3 separate regions of the Homo sapiens genome follow, and regions 1 and 3 are each linked to region 2. The links are contacts of gene promoters, found by promoter capture Hi-C in blood cells and fetal thymus (Javierre and others, 2016). All regions are on one chromosome and are shown on one strand. The core of a region is centred on a gene start or on the middle of the fragment in contact, and the rest is flanking DNA. Distances in the headings are between cores, read along the strand shown. Region 1 overlaps ANKRD24 (ankyrin repeat domain 24). Region 2 holds the start of ATCAY (ATCAY kinesin light chain interacting caytaxin). Region 3 overlaps ANKRD24 (ankyrin repeat domain 24).

The links. Contacts are between HindIII fragments. The CHiCAGO score rates a contact against its expected background, and 5 or more counts as called.
Region 1: a fragment that was not itself captured here is called in contact with the fragment with the promoter of ATCAY in region 2 in 3 of 17 cell types (erythroblasts, M2 macrophages and M1 macrophages); the score reaches 7.3 in erythroblasts.
Region 3: a contact is called between a fragment that was not itself captured here and the fragment with the promoter of ATCAY in region 2, in 2 of 17 cell types (M0 macrophages and M2 macrophages). The highest score is 6.1, in M0 macrophages.

Annotation. Positions count from the first base shown.
Region 1 is chr19:4,218,492-4,222,609 of GRCh38, reverse strand. ANKRD24 (ankyrin repeat domain 24) reads right to left here. Exons shown (of 22, transcript NM_001393985.1): 19 at 2,852-3,019. Among named protein-coding and RNA genes, the nearest start is that of EBI3, 9.0 kb to the left of the region's middle. The HindIII fragment of the contact is 672 bases long and covers 1,038-1,709 here.
Region 2 is chr19:3,878,123-3,882,372 of GRCh38, reverse strand. ATCAY (ATCAY kinesin light chain interacting caytaxin) reads right to left here and starts at 1,688. Exons shown (of 13, transcript NM_033064.5): 1 at 1,365-1,688. RefSeq lists an enhancer at 1,483-2,013. The HindIII fragment of the contact is 12,603 bases long and covers 1-4,250 here.
Region 3 is chr19:4,203,296-4,207,398 of GRCh38, reverse strand. ANKRD24 (ankyrin repeat domain 24) reads right to left here. Exons shown (of 22, transcript NM_001393985.1): 8 at 87-157. Among named protein-coding and RNA genes, the nearest start is that of ANKRD24, 23 kb to the right of the region's middle. RefSeq lists a silencer at 2,248-2,461. The HindIII fragment of the contact is 4,292 bases long and covers 84-4,103 here.

The DNA.
Region 1 (4,118 bases), core at 124-2,623, 340 kb before region 2:
TCTGCAGCCGCAGGAAGAGGCCAGGGATAAAGGCTTTCAAGGGAAGGTCCCGTCCCTGGGGTTAGCAAACTCTGGCCTGAGGGCCACGTCTGGCCCACAGCCTGTTTTAATTGTATTTATTTATATTTTAGATGCTTATGGTTACCAACACAGCCTGTTTTTATACAACCCACAAGCTAAGGTTGGTTTTCACATTTTTTTGTTTTTGTTTGTTTCTTTTTGAGACAGAGTCTCGCTCTGTTGCCCAGGCTGGAGTGCAGTGGTGTGATCTCAGCTCACTACAACTTCCGCCTCCCAGGTTCAAGCAATTCTCCTGCCTCAGCCTCCTGAGTAGCTGGGACTACAGGTGCCCATCACCACATCTGGCTAATGTTTCTATTTTTAGTAGAGACGGGGTTTCGCCATGTTGGCCAGGCTGGTCTTGAACTCCTGACCTCAGGTGATCCACTTGCCTGGGCCTCCCAAAGTGCTGGGATTACAGGCGTGAGCCACCGCGCCCGGCCAATAGTTCTTAACTTAGTAGTTGCTGTGATCCTGCACAGAGATTAAGTTTAAACTGTGCCTAGTCAACAGTAGGCACTCAATAAATGCCGGGCCTTATTATTACTATAGATCTGGGGTTCTCAACTTGAGGCAATTCTGCCCCCCAAGGGGACACTGGGTGTTGTGTGGGGACATCTGTGGTTGTCACGACTTGGAGGAGCTCTTGGCTTGGAGTGGGTAGAGGTCAAGGACGCTGCTCAGTCCCCTACAATGCCCAGATGGCCCCAGCCCAGGAAATGATCCCGCTCCTATGTCCACAGTGTGCAAGGGAAGAAACCAGGCTACAGATAAACCATCATCCTAACTGCAATTTTGCCCTCCCTTTACAGAGGGGAAACTGAAGCTCAGAGAGGTGAAGTGTCTGGTCTAAGGTCCCACAGTGAGTCGAGGCTGGGTCATTCTTTATGCTGAAGCGCCTGGGACTCTGGGTGTCTCGTCTCCTGTCCAGTGACATGTTGCGTGACTTTGAGCCACTCACTTCATCTCTTAAAGCTTTGGTTTGCTTATCTGGAAAATGGGGACAAAAATACTTTCTGAAACCAGGTGCGGTGGCTCACGCCTGTCATCCTACCACTTTGGGAGGCTGAGGCAGACAGATCGCTTGAGCTCAAGAGTTTGAGACCAACCTGGGCAATATGGTGAAACCCCATCTCTTACCAAACAAACAAACAAACAAACAAACAAAAGCAAAAAAAAACAGGCCAGGCACGGTGGCTCATGACTGTAATCCCAGCACTTTGGGAGGCTGAATCACCTGAGGTCGGGAGTTCGAGACCAGCCTGGCCAACATGGTGAAACCCAGTCTCTACTAAAAATACAAAAATTAGCTGGGTGTGGTGGCACTCGCCTGCAGTCCCAGCTACTCGGGAGGCTAGGCAGGAGAATCTCTTGAACCCGGGAGGTGAGGTTGCAGTGAGCCAAAATCATGCCACTGTACTTCACCCTGAGCGACAGAGTGAAACTTTCTCTCAAAAAAAAAAGAAAGAAACAAAAAAATTAGCCAGGCATGATGGCACACACCTGTAACCTGTAGTCCTGGCTACTCAGGAGGCTGAGGCAGGAAGATCGCTTGAACCCAGGAGGTCGAAGCTGCAATGATCTGAGATTGCACCACTGCACTCCAGCCTGGGTGACAAAGTGAGACTCTGCCAAAAAAAAAAAAAGCTTTCTGGCTTTTAGCGTTGCAGGAAGATTAAAAATGGTAATGTGTGAGGCCGGTCGCGGTGACTCACGCCTGTAATCCCAGCACTCTGGGAGGCCGAGGCAGGCGGATCACGAGGTCAGGAGATTGAGACCATCCCAGCTAACATGGTGAAACCCCATCTCTGCTAAAAATACAAAAAAATTAGCCGGGCGTGGTGGCAGGCGCCTGTAGTCCCAGCTACTCGGGAGGCTGAGGCAGGAGAATGGCGTGAACCCGGGAGGCAGAGTTTACAGTGAGCCAAGATCACGCCACTGCACTCCAGTCTGGGTGACAGAGCAAGACTCTGCCTCAGAAAAAAACAAAACAACAATAAAAAAAGGTAATGTGTGAAAAATTCCCAATCTAACACCTGGAGGCTGTTGTTATCATCATTAGTATTGTTTAGGAACGAAACGTGGGAACGTGGGTACAAACCCAGCTGAAAGACTGCATGGCTGTGTGACCTTAGGCAAGTGACTTCACCTCTCTGTGCTTCTGTTTCCTCAAATGGGGATAATAAAAGCCCCTATCCTGTGAGAACTGGATGTGACTAAATGCATCCAGTCCACAGGGCCTGGCATGCAGTAAGCACTCAATAAATGTAACTGTGGAGACAGACGCAGTGGCTCACGCCTGTAACCCCAGCCCTTTTGGGGGCTGAGGCAGGCGGATCACTTGAGCTCAGGAGTTCGAGACCAGCCTGGCCAACGTGACGAAACCCCATCTCTACTAAAAATATAAAAAATTAGCTGGGTGTGGTGTCGCATGCCTGTAATCCCAGCTGCTCGGGAGGCTGAGGCACGAGAATTGCTTGAACCCAGAGGTTGCAGTGAGCCGAGATCATGCCACTGCACTCCAGCCTGGGCGACAGAGCGAGACTCCGTCTCAAGTAAAAAAATAAAATAAATGTAACTGTGGTTATAATTGGTACCTGGAACAGCAGCCTGTGTGTGTCTGACTTGTCAGAGGCTGTAACCAGGTCCCCTTCCGTTTCTGAGCCTCAGTTTCCCTTCTGGAAAATGGGTTGATTTTCCAAGGCCCTTGCAGTGAGGACCTTCGTAGATTGGCCCCAACCTTTGCTGAGTGGATGCCTCCCTGACTGAGTGTGGGAGAGGGGGCACCCACCTTCTTGTCCTTCTCCTTGGCCTTGTCCAGAGCCTCCTGGGCCCGGCTCTGGGCCTGGCGAGCCCTTTCCGCCTCGGTCCGTAGCCCCCGTAGCTGCTGCTCTGCTGTGGCCAGCTGTGCCTCGGCTGCGTGTCGCTCACTCTTCATGAACAGGGCCTCACGCTGCACCTGTGGCCCAAGCCCACGCATGACTCTCAGGACACTAAGACTCCAATGATGCTAGACCCCAGAATTCATATGATCCTTCTACTTTGTTCTTTTGTTTTTGGATTTTTTTTAAGACAGGGTCTTGCTCTGTTGCTCCGGACCTGCACTCCTGGCTGGAGTGCGGTGGTGCGATCATGGCTCACTGTAGCCTCAATCTTTCAGGCTTAAGTGATCCTCCCACCTCGGCCTTCCAAGTAGCTGGGACCACAGGTGCCACCATGCCTGGCTACTATTTGCTTGTTTTTGTTTTGTTTTTGTTTTTTTTTGAGACAGAGTCTTGCTCTGTCGCCTAGGCTGGAGTGCAGTGGTGTAATCTCAGCTCACTGCAACCTCCACTTCCCGGGTTCAAGCGATTCTCCTGCCTCAGCCTCCCCAGTAGCTGGGATTACAGGCACGTGCCACAATGCCAACCTAATTTTTGTATTTTTAGTAGAGACGGGGTTTCACGATGTTGTCCAGGCTGGTCTCGAACTTGTGACCTCAGGTGATCCACTCACCTTGGCCTCCCAAAGTGCTGGGATTACAGGCGTGAGCCACGGTGCCCGGCCATGAGCTCAGGTGTTTGAGACCAGCGTGGGCAACATGGCAAAACCCTGTCTTTACAAAAAATTAAAAAGTTAGACGAGCATGGTGGTGCACACCTGTGGTACCAGCTACTTGGGAGGCTGAGGTGGGAGGATTACTTGAGCCCAGGAGGTGGAGGTTGCAGTGAGCTATGATTGTGCCACTGCACTCCAGCCTGGGTGACTGGGTGACTTTTCAGACAGAGCCACACCCTGTCTGAAAAAAAAAAAAAAAGAAAGGAAGGGAAGGGGAAGGGGGGAGGGAAGGGGGATGAAGAAAGAAAGGAAAGAGAGAGGAAGGAAGGAGAAATAAAGAGAAAGAAAGAGAGAAAACACAAGTGGAAAATTCCAAGAGGTCAGGATGGCTGCAGGGTCAAATGTCTGTTCAAGGCCAGGTGCGGAGGCTGATGCCCATAATCCCAGCACTTTGAGAGGCTGAGGTGGGTGGATCACCTGAGGTCAGGAGTTCAAGACCAGCCTGGCCAACACGGTGAACT
Region 2 (4,250 bases), core at 439-2,938:
GCTTTCCAGCCTGAGCAACAGAGACCCTACTTCAAAAAATAAAATAAAAGATAAAGCATCTGGCTGGGGGCAGTGGCTCACACGTGTAATCCCAGCACTTTGCGAGGATCGCCTGAGCACAGGAGGTTAAGACCAGCCCGGGCAAGATAGCAAGACCCTGTCTCAAAAAAACCAAATACATGAAGCATCTAAGGCCCCCAACTCTCATGGCATCCAGGCTGCCTCTCTGTGGAGTAGGTTACCTGCAGCCCCCCAGCATAGATATCGGGTTTGCATCGGGGACAGGGGACTGTGGCTTAGCAAGGAAGGACCCAGAGGCAGCCTCAGCCAGATGAGGAAGTGGGGGGAGGGGACGGCTAAAACTAGACCCTCCCCCGTACAGGGTGAGCGTTTCTCACTCGATTCTCTGTCCTCAATGTCGTCATTCATGCTTGGAGGAGGGACAGTAACACGCAGCATGGAAAAAAAAAAAATCCCTCCTGGATGCTATGGGGTCGGGGGGGGGGCGGTGGCAGCAGCCAGCCAGGCCCTTCCCGCGAGGGTAAGTTCTCCTCGGCAGTAGAAACGCATTTGCTCTCCGGAGGAAGGGGTCTTCGCCTCTCCCTTCCTTATACTGAGCTGGGTGTGACCTCAGCCCCCAGGAACACTCCCACCAGCCCCGCCCCCGACCCCCACCCCCTGCCAGCTGCAGCCACAGGCGTTGACTCCACAGTCTTCTAAGGATGGGGTGGGGTGGGTCCTCAGTGGGCCCCGGACACTCCTGCACTCAGATCCTGGCTTCGCATTTGGGGACGGCCAAAAGAAGACAGTGACATCAAGGAACGGGAGTGAAGCGCTCATTTGAGCCCTGATGTCTGATTATTAACAAATCACATACGAGTTCCAATAAGGAGGAGGCATCTGTGTCTTAAACCATAAACCACCCCCTTCCTCCCCACCCCACAGGACAGCCTTTATCGACACACTTAGATTTTTTTTTTTTTTTTTTCCCGAAATCGTCGGCTGGTGGCCTTCCTAGCGTTATAAATAGGAAATACATAGGGCTAGGATGGGTCTATTTCAGCGTCCCAGAGAGAAGCTGAGGTTTTCATCCGCCCGAGCTCTCAGCGTGTCCTGAAAATGGTGCACTTAGAGGGGAACGGTGCGCGCGGAAGGTAAACTGTGTTGCTGGGCGCAGCTCAGGGAACGGTTTTCCCTGGTACCGGGAACAGGGATGTGAGGGCCTTCACGGAGTCACAAGACCGTGGCTCTCTGCTCCCACCCGCCCCATCTGCTGGAAAGGGATTTAGAGGCGGCAAAGGCTGCCGGATAAACCTTCCAGGGAGACGGTTTATCCTGGGAGAAGGGGAGATGCGCGCACTCACCTCTGCAGCTGAGACAGCCTCTCCTCCTTACTGGCAAACAAAGGCGAGCCCTGCCCGGGTGCAGCTGGGCATCGCTCACGCTCCCCGGGCCTTCAGAGCCTAGGAGGAAGAGGATGCTCGCAGGGGCGGATTCTGCATCCGAGGAAGGTCACCCAGGGCGACGTGGCCAGCGCCCGCCAGCTCTTTTGTGCAGGGGTGGGTGGGGTGCAGGGTTAGCGGTGGGCTCCCCAGCGCGGGGCTGCGGCTGCGCCCCCTCTCATCGCCGCCCGCCTGCGCGCCCTGCCTCCGAGGTAGCTGCTTCTTCCCAGCTCAGGGCTGGCAGAGGCTCGGCTTCCCGAAGACGGTTAATTTATGCTGCTTTTGTGTGCAGGGAGGAGGGGGTGGGGGGTGGCGGCCTGACGGAAAAGCACAGCCCCCTGCCAGAATCCGATCCTCCCCATTGGCTGACAGACAAGCATCTCCGAAAGCCACGCCAGGGGCAGAGGCAGAAATAATTTTCTGATGGCGCATCAGAGATTTAAAAACAAAACAACGGACAAATAAATAAATAAATGGCAAGATGGCCTCATTCCTTAGAGAATGGGGGGTGGGGGAGTTGGGAAAGGTCTTCTTGGCACTTCTCCTTGCAAAGGGAGCAGGGGTGAGGGGTGGCATCCCCCAAAAAGTCTGTGCAGGCAAAGAAATGACTGTCCCCAGGTCGGATGCCATGGCTCACGCCTGTAATCCCAGCACTTTCGGAGGCCGAGGAGGGAGGATCACCTGAAGTCAGGAGTTCGATACCAGCCTGGCCAACATGGTGAAACCCCGTTTCTACTGAAAATACAAAAATTAGCCAGGCGTGGTGGCGTGCGCCTGTAATCCCAGCTACTCGGGAGGCTGAGGCAGGAGAATCGCTTGAACCTGGGAGGCGGAGGTTGCAGTGAGCCGAGATGGCGCCACTGCACTGCAGCCTGGGCGGCAGAGGGAGACTCTGTCTCAAAGAAAAAAAAAAAAAAAGAAAGAAATGACTGTCCCCAGGTCACCGTGTTGTGGGTCCATTAGATGGTCACTTACCATTGATTCAGCCTCGTGCCCTAAACAGGGCTGGGTGCAGGGGAGGCGGAAGTTTCTCAGGCACACTCACTTTGCAGGGCTGCTGTGGGAACGGCGCCCCCTGCAGTTGTGCGCTGGCGTGGCCTCGCCCTGGAGGAATTCAAGGAGACTGTGGAAGATGGTAGGGTGGAGAGTGCAGGCCGTGCAGTCGGACTGGAAGTGGGTTTGAACTCTAGCCCAGCCACTCCCCAGCTGGCAGACCAGTGGGCATGAGTGATCTCACCTGCGGGCCTCAGTTTTTCTCATCTGTGAAATGGAGCCGCTATGGCTTTTCCACATTATGAGATAATGCATAGACAGCACTAAACACAGTGCTGGGGCACAAGAAAAGCTCCCTATGTGTTTCTTTCTCTTTCTTTCTTTCTTTCTTTCTTTCTTTCTTTCTTTCTTTCTTTCTTTCTTTCTTTCTTTTTTTTTTTTTTTTAGGTGGAGTCTCGCTCTGTTGCCAGGCTGGAGTACAGTGGTGCGATCTTGGCTCACTGCAACCTCCGACTCCCAGGTTCAAGTGGTTCTCCTCCCTCAGCCTCCCAAGTAGCTGGGATTACAGGCACACACCACCACACCTGGCTAATTTTTTTTTTGTATTTTTAGTAGAGGCGGGGTTTCAACATGTTGGCCAGGCTGGTCTCGAACTCCTGACTTCAGGTGATCCGCCCACCTTGGCCTCCCAAAGTGCTGGGATTAGAGGTGCGAATCACTGTGCTCGGCCTATATGTATTTCTTGCTATTGCTGTTTTTAATGTTTATTTTATTTACTTATTTTTTTAAGAAACAGGAGTTTTCCCTGTCATCCAGGCTGGAGTGCAATGGCACAATCACAGCTCGCTGCAGTCTTGAACTCCCGGGCTCAGGTGATCCTTACACCTCTTTCTCTCCAGTGGTTGAGACTACAGGCTCCTACCACCACGCCCTGCTAATCTGTGTAATTTTTGTAGAAATAGGGTATCTCTCTATTGCCCAGGCTGGTCTTGAATTCTTGGGCTCAAGTGAGCCTCTCATCTCAGCCTCGAAAAATGTTGGGATTATAGGTGTGAGCCACCGTGCCTGACCCACAGCACTTACTATTAATTGAAATTATTTACACTTTTTTGTTGTTGTTGTTGATTCTCTGCTCCTCCTTATTAGAATATACTGGGTTTTGTTTTGTTTTGTTTTGTTTTGAGACAGAGACTTGCTCTGTTTCCCAGGCTGGAGTGCAGTGGTGTGATCTCAGCTCACCGCAACCTCCTCCTCCTCTCAGGTTCAAGCGATTCTCATGCCTCAGCCTCCCAAGCATCTGGGACTACAGGCATGCACCACCACACCCAGCTATTTTTTTTATTTTTGGTAGAAACGGGGTTTCACCATGTTGGCCAGGCTGGTCTTAAACTCCTGACCTCAGGCAACCTGCCCACCTTGGCCTCCCAAAGTGTTGGGATTACAGGCGTGAGCCACCGCACCTGGCCAGAATATACATTTTCGAAGAGCAGAGGCTCGGTTGTTCTTATGCACCACACGTTCTCCGCACAAGGTAGCAACTCCTGGTCCAAAGCTGTTCAGGAGACGCAGGCAGAGTGCATGAAGGCTGGCTCCCTTCATGACATTCAATGACACCCCACCTAGGCTGGCAGCCTCACCCGCTGCATGGAGGTCTGCACTCTTCCGAGGCATAAAGGTAACCTGCCCACAGCAGAGGCAGAAAGCCCTGATGGGGAAGCAGAGGCCCCAGAGACTTTAGCACAAGGTTGGGACTTCCCATCTCCTGGCTGGAGAAAATGGAGGTCTTGTAAGAGACACTTGTGTTAACTGAGGGGT
Region 3 (4,103 bases), core at 980-3,479, 320 kb before region 2:
CTTTCAAAGGGTGCCTGAGATACTGCCACTTGGTGGCAGCATACCTCAAGCATAACATCTTCCCTGAAGAGATCCCAGAAGCTTACCCGATCTTGGGGGTTTAGATGTGCCTTAAAGGAGCAGAGCACCTCTGAGCAGGAGAGACAGCCACCAGCCGCTGCAAAAGAGAAAAGGTTGTCCGGTGCGGTAGCTCAACCCTGTAATCCCAGCACCTTGGGAGGCCAAGGCAGGAGGTTCGCTTGAGTTCTGGAGTTTGAGACCAACCTGGGCCAACACAGTGAGACCCTGTCTCTACAAAAAAAAAAAAAAAAAAGCAAACATTATCTGGGTGTGGTGGTGTGTGTCTGTGGCCCCAGCTACTAGGGAGTCCCCAGCTGAAGCGGGAGGACCGCTTGAGCTCAGGAGTTCAAGGCTGCAGTGAACCATGATGGCACCACTGCAAACCAGCCTGGGTGACAGAGTGAGATCTTGTCTCAAAAACCAAGAAAAGAAAGGAAGACAAACAAAAGGGGGAAGAGTAGGGGTAGGGTGAGACTTCGACATTTTCTGGGCACTTTCTGCCTGGGTGTGACCCTGCTCCTTTATTTCATGAGAAATTCCCATGTGCCCTGAGGAATTTGTAACAAAGGCAAGTTTTGCATTTTACAGATGCAGCAACTGAGGCCCAACCAGGCCAGTGGTCACCCACTGGGGTAAGAGGCAGAGTCAGATCTAGGATCTAGGTCTGCCGACTGCCAGTCCCAAGCACTGTGGTTCCCTATACTTTTTGTAGAGACGGGGTCTCGCTGTGTTGCCCAGACTGGTCCCGAACTCCTGGGCTCAAGTGATCCTCCTGCCTCGGCCTCCCAAGGGGCTGGGATTACAGGAATGAGACCCACACTACAAGGCATGTGCAACCGTGCCTGGCTAATTTTTATTTTATTTTATATTATATTATTTTATTTTTTTAGAGACAGGGTCTTGCTACGTTGCCCAGGCTTTTCTTGAACTCCTGGGCTCAAGCAATCTGCCGCCGGGACTGTAGGCGTGCACCACCACTCCTGGCTAATTCTTTTTTTTAATTTTTTATGGAAATGGAATGTCACTATATTGCCCAGGCTGGTCTCAAACTCCTAGGTTCAAGCAATCCTCCTGCCTCTGGCTCCCAAAGTGCTGGGATTATAGGCTGCAGCCACCATGCCCGGCCCCGTTTATGTGTTTATGTATTTATTTAATTTTATTTATTTATTTATTTATTTATTTATTTATTTATTTTTGAGACGGAGTCTTGCTCTGGTCACCCAGGCTGGAGTGCAGTGGCCCGATCTCGGCTCACTGCAACCTCCACCTCCCGGGTTCATGCCATTCTCCTGCCTCAGCCTCCCGAGTAGCTGGGACTACAGGCGCCCGCCACCACACCCGGCTAATTTTTTGTATTTTTAGTAGAGACGGGGTTTCACCGTGTTAGCCAGGATGGTCTCGATTGCCTGAGCTCGTGATCCACCCGCCTCGGCCTCCCAAAGTGCTGGGATTACAGGCGTGAGCCACCGCACCCGACCTATTTTTATTTTTTGAGATGGAGTCTCCCTCTGCACCCACGCTGGAGTGCAGGGGTGTGATCTTGGCTCACTGCAACCTCCGCCTCCCCGGTTCCAGCGATTCTCCTGCCTCAGCCTCCCGAGTAGCTGGGATTATAGGCATGAGCCATCACGCCTGGCTAATTTTTATATTTTTAGTAGAGATGGGGTTTTGCCATGTTGCCCAGGCTGGTCTCAAACTCCTGGGCTCAAGCAATCCTCCCACCTCTGACTCCCATAGTGCTAGGATTACAGGCGTGCACCACTGTGCCTGGCCTGTCTATTTATATTTTAAGAGATCCCTCCTACTGCCATTTGCCCAGGACCAGAGTGGAAACAGGGAGGCTCCCCAGGAGGCTGTGCAGCTGACACAAGGGCATGGTCTCTGGAATCCCTGGGTATGAATTCCAGCAGGTTGACATCCAGTCTGATTAAGCACAAAAATCCATTTTTCAGTCAACAAACTCTGTTTGAATACCTGCTGTATGTCTGAGGCAGTATGAGGTTTTGATTGCTGCAAACCTTATCTACAACACGTAGAACGGTGCCTGACACACAGTAGGTACTCAATAACTGTTTGTTGTTGTTGTTGGTTGGTTGGTTTTTTTGAGATGGGGTCTCGCTCTGTTGCCCGGGCTGTGCAGGGGCATGATCTCGGCTCTATGCAACCTCCACTCCCCGGGTTTAAGCAATTCTCCTGCCTCAGCCTCCCGAGTAGCTGGGATTACAGGCACATGCCTCCATGCCTGGCTAATTTTTTGCATTGTTTAGTAGAGACAGGGTTTCACCGTGTTGGCCAGGATGGTCTTGATCTCCTGACCTCATGATCCGCCCGCCTCAGGCTCCCAAAGTGCTGGGATTATAGGCGTGAGCCACTGCACCCGGCCTTAATTTTTTATTATTAGTAGAGACAGGGTTTCACCATGTTGGCCAGGCTATTCTCGAACTCCTGACCTCTGCTAATCTGCCCGCCTGGGCCTCCCAGAGTGCTCAGTTAACTGTTGAGTGACAAAAACCAACGGACTCCTATATTGTGACCAGAAGCATTGCCGCCACTAGGTGGCAGCATACTCCAACTGCAGAGAATTCTCACCCAGTGACTAAAACCCCCAAAGCCCTATTTTATTCTGAGTTTCCGAAAGAACAGATGTTTCTTGAGTCGTCAGCGAAAGCCATGCCTGAATTTCACGGGGACAGCGGACAGGTCGGGGGCTGAGTTCTGGTTCAAGTCGGTGGGTCCCTTTCCCTCCCTCTGGGAAGGAGTTTGGATTAGGTGATTATGAGGGTACCAGCTGCCTGGAGCTATGGTTTTCCTGGTATCTCCTAGGGGCTCCACAAAGGAAATTAAACCCTAGGGACCTCTCCTCATCCTCACAAAGCCCAGGAGTACATTCGACTGCTCCTTGAGGTCAGACGACCTGGATTCCCTACGATTTACCTGCTGCGGACAAGTGACAGCCTCATTAAGCCTCATCAAGCCTCATCTGTGCAATGGGCTAATAGCCTGTGGTTCAAAGGGTAACCGGGATTTATGATGGGCTCCAGTGCCTGGCACACAGTAGGTAATAAAAAAGGAGAAGGGCCGGCACGGTGGCTCACGCCTGTAATCCCAGCACTTTGGGAGGCCGAGCAGGCGGATCACGAGGTCAGGAGATCAAGACCATCCTGGCTAACACAGTGAAACCCCGTCTCTACTAAAAAATACAAAAAAATTAGCCGGGCATGGTGGCAGGCGCCTGTAGTCCCCGCTACTCGGGAGGCTGAGGCAGGAGAATGGCGTGGACCCGGGAGGCGGAGCTTGCAGTGAGCCGAGATCACGCCACTGCACTCCAGCCTGGGTGACAGAGCGAGACTCCACCTCAAAAAAAAAAAAAAAAAAAAAAAAGGGAGAAGGGCCGGCACGGTGGCTCACGCCTGTAATCCCAGCACTTTGGGAGGCCGAGGCGGGCAGATCACCTGAGGTCAGGAGTTCGAGATGAGCCTGGCCAACATGGTGAAACCCCATCTCTACTAAAAATACAAAAAAATTTTAGGTGGGTGTTGTGGCATAGGTCTGTAGTCCCAGCTACTCAGGAGGCTAAGGCAGGAGAATTGCTTGAACCTGGGAGGTGGAGGTTGCAGTGAGCCAAGATTGCGCCATTGCACTCCACCCTGGGCGACAGAGGGAGATTCTATGTCAAGAAAAAAAGGAGGAGGCTAGGTGAGGTGGCTCACGCCTGTAATTCCAGCACTTTGAGTGGCCGAGGTGGGAGGATCATTTGAGCCCAGGAGTTTGAGATCAGCCTGGGCAACATAGCAAGATCCTGTATCTACAAATAAATTTAAAATATTAGCCAGGCATGGTGGTGCACGCCTGTGGTCCCAGCTACTTGGGAGTCTGAGGCAGGAGGATCGTTTGAACCCGGGAGGTCAAGGATGCAGTGAGCCATGATTGCCCCACTGTACTTCAGCCTGGGCAACAGAGCAAGACCCTATCTCATAAAAAGAAAAGGAAGGCCAGGAGCGGTGGCTCACGCCTGTAATCCCAGCACTTTGGGAGGCCAAGGC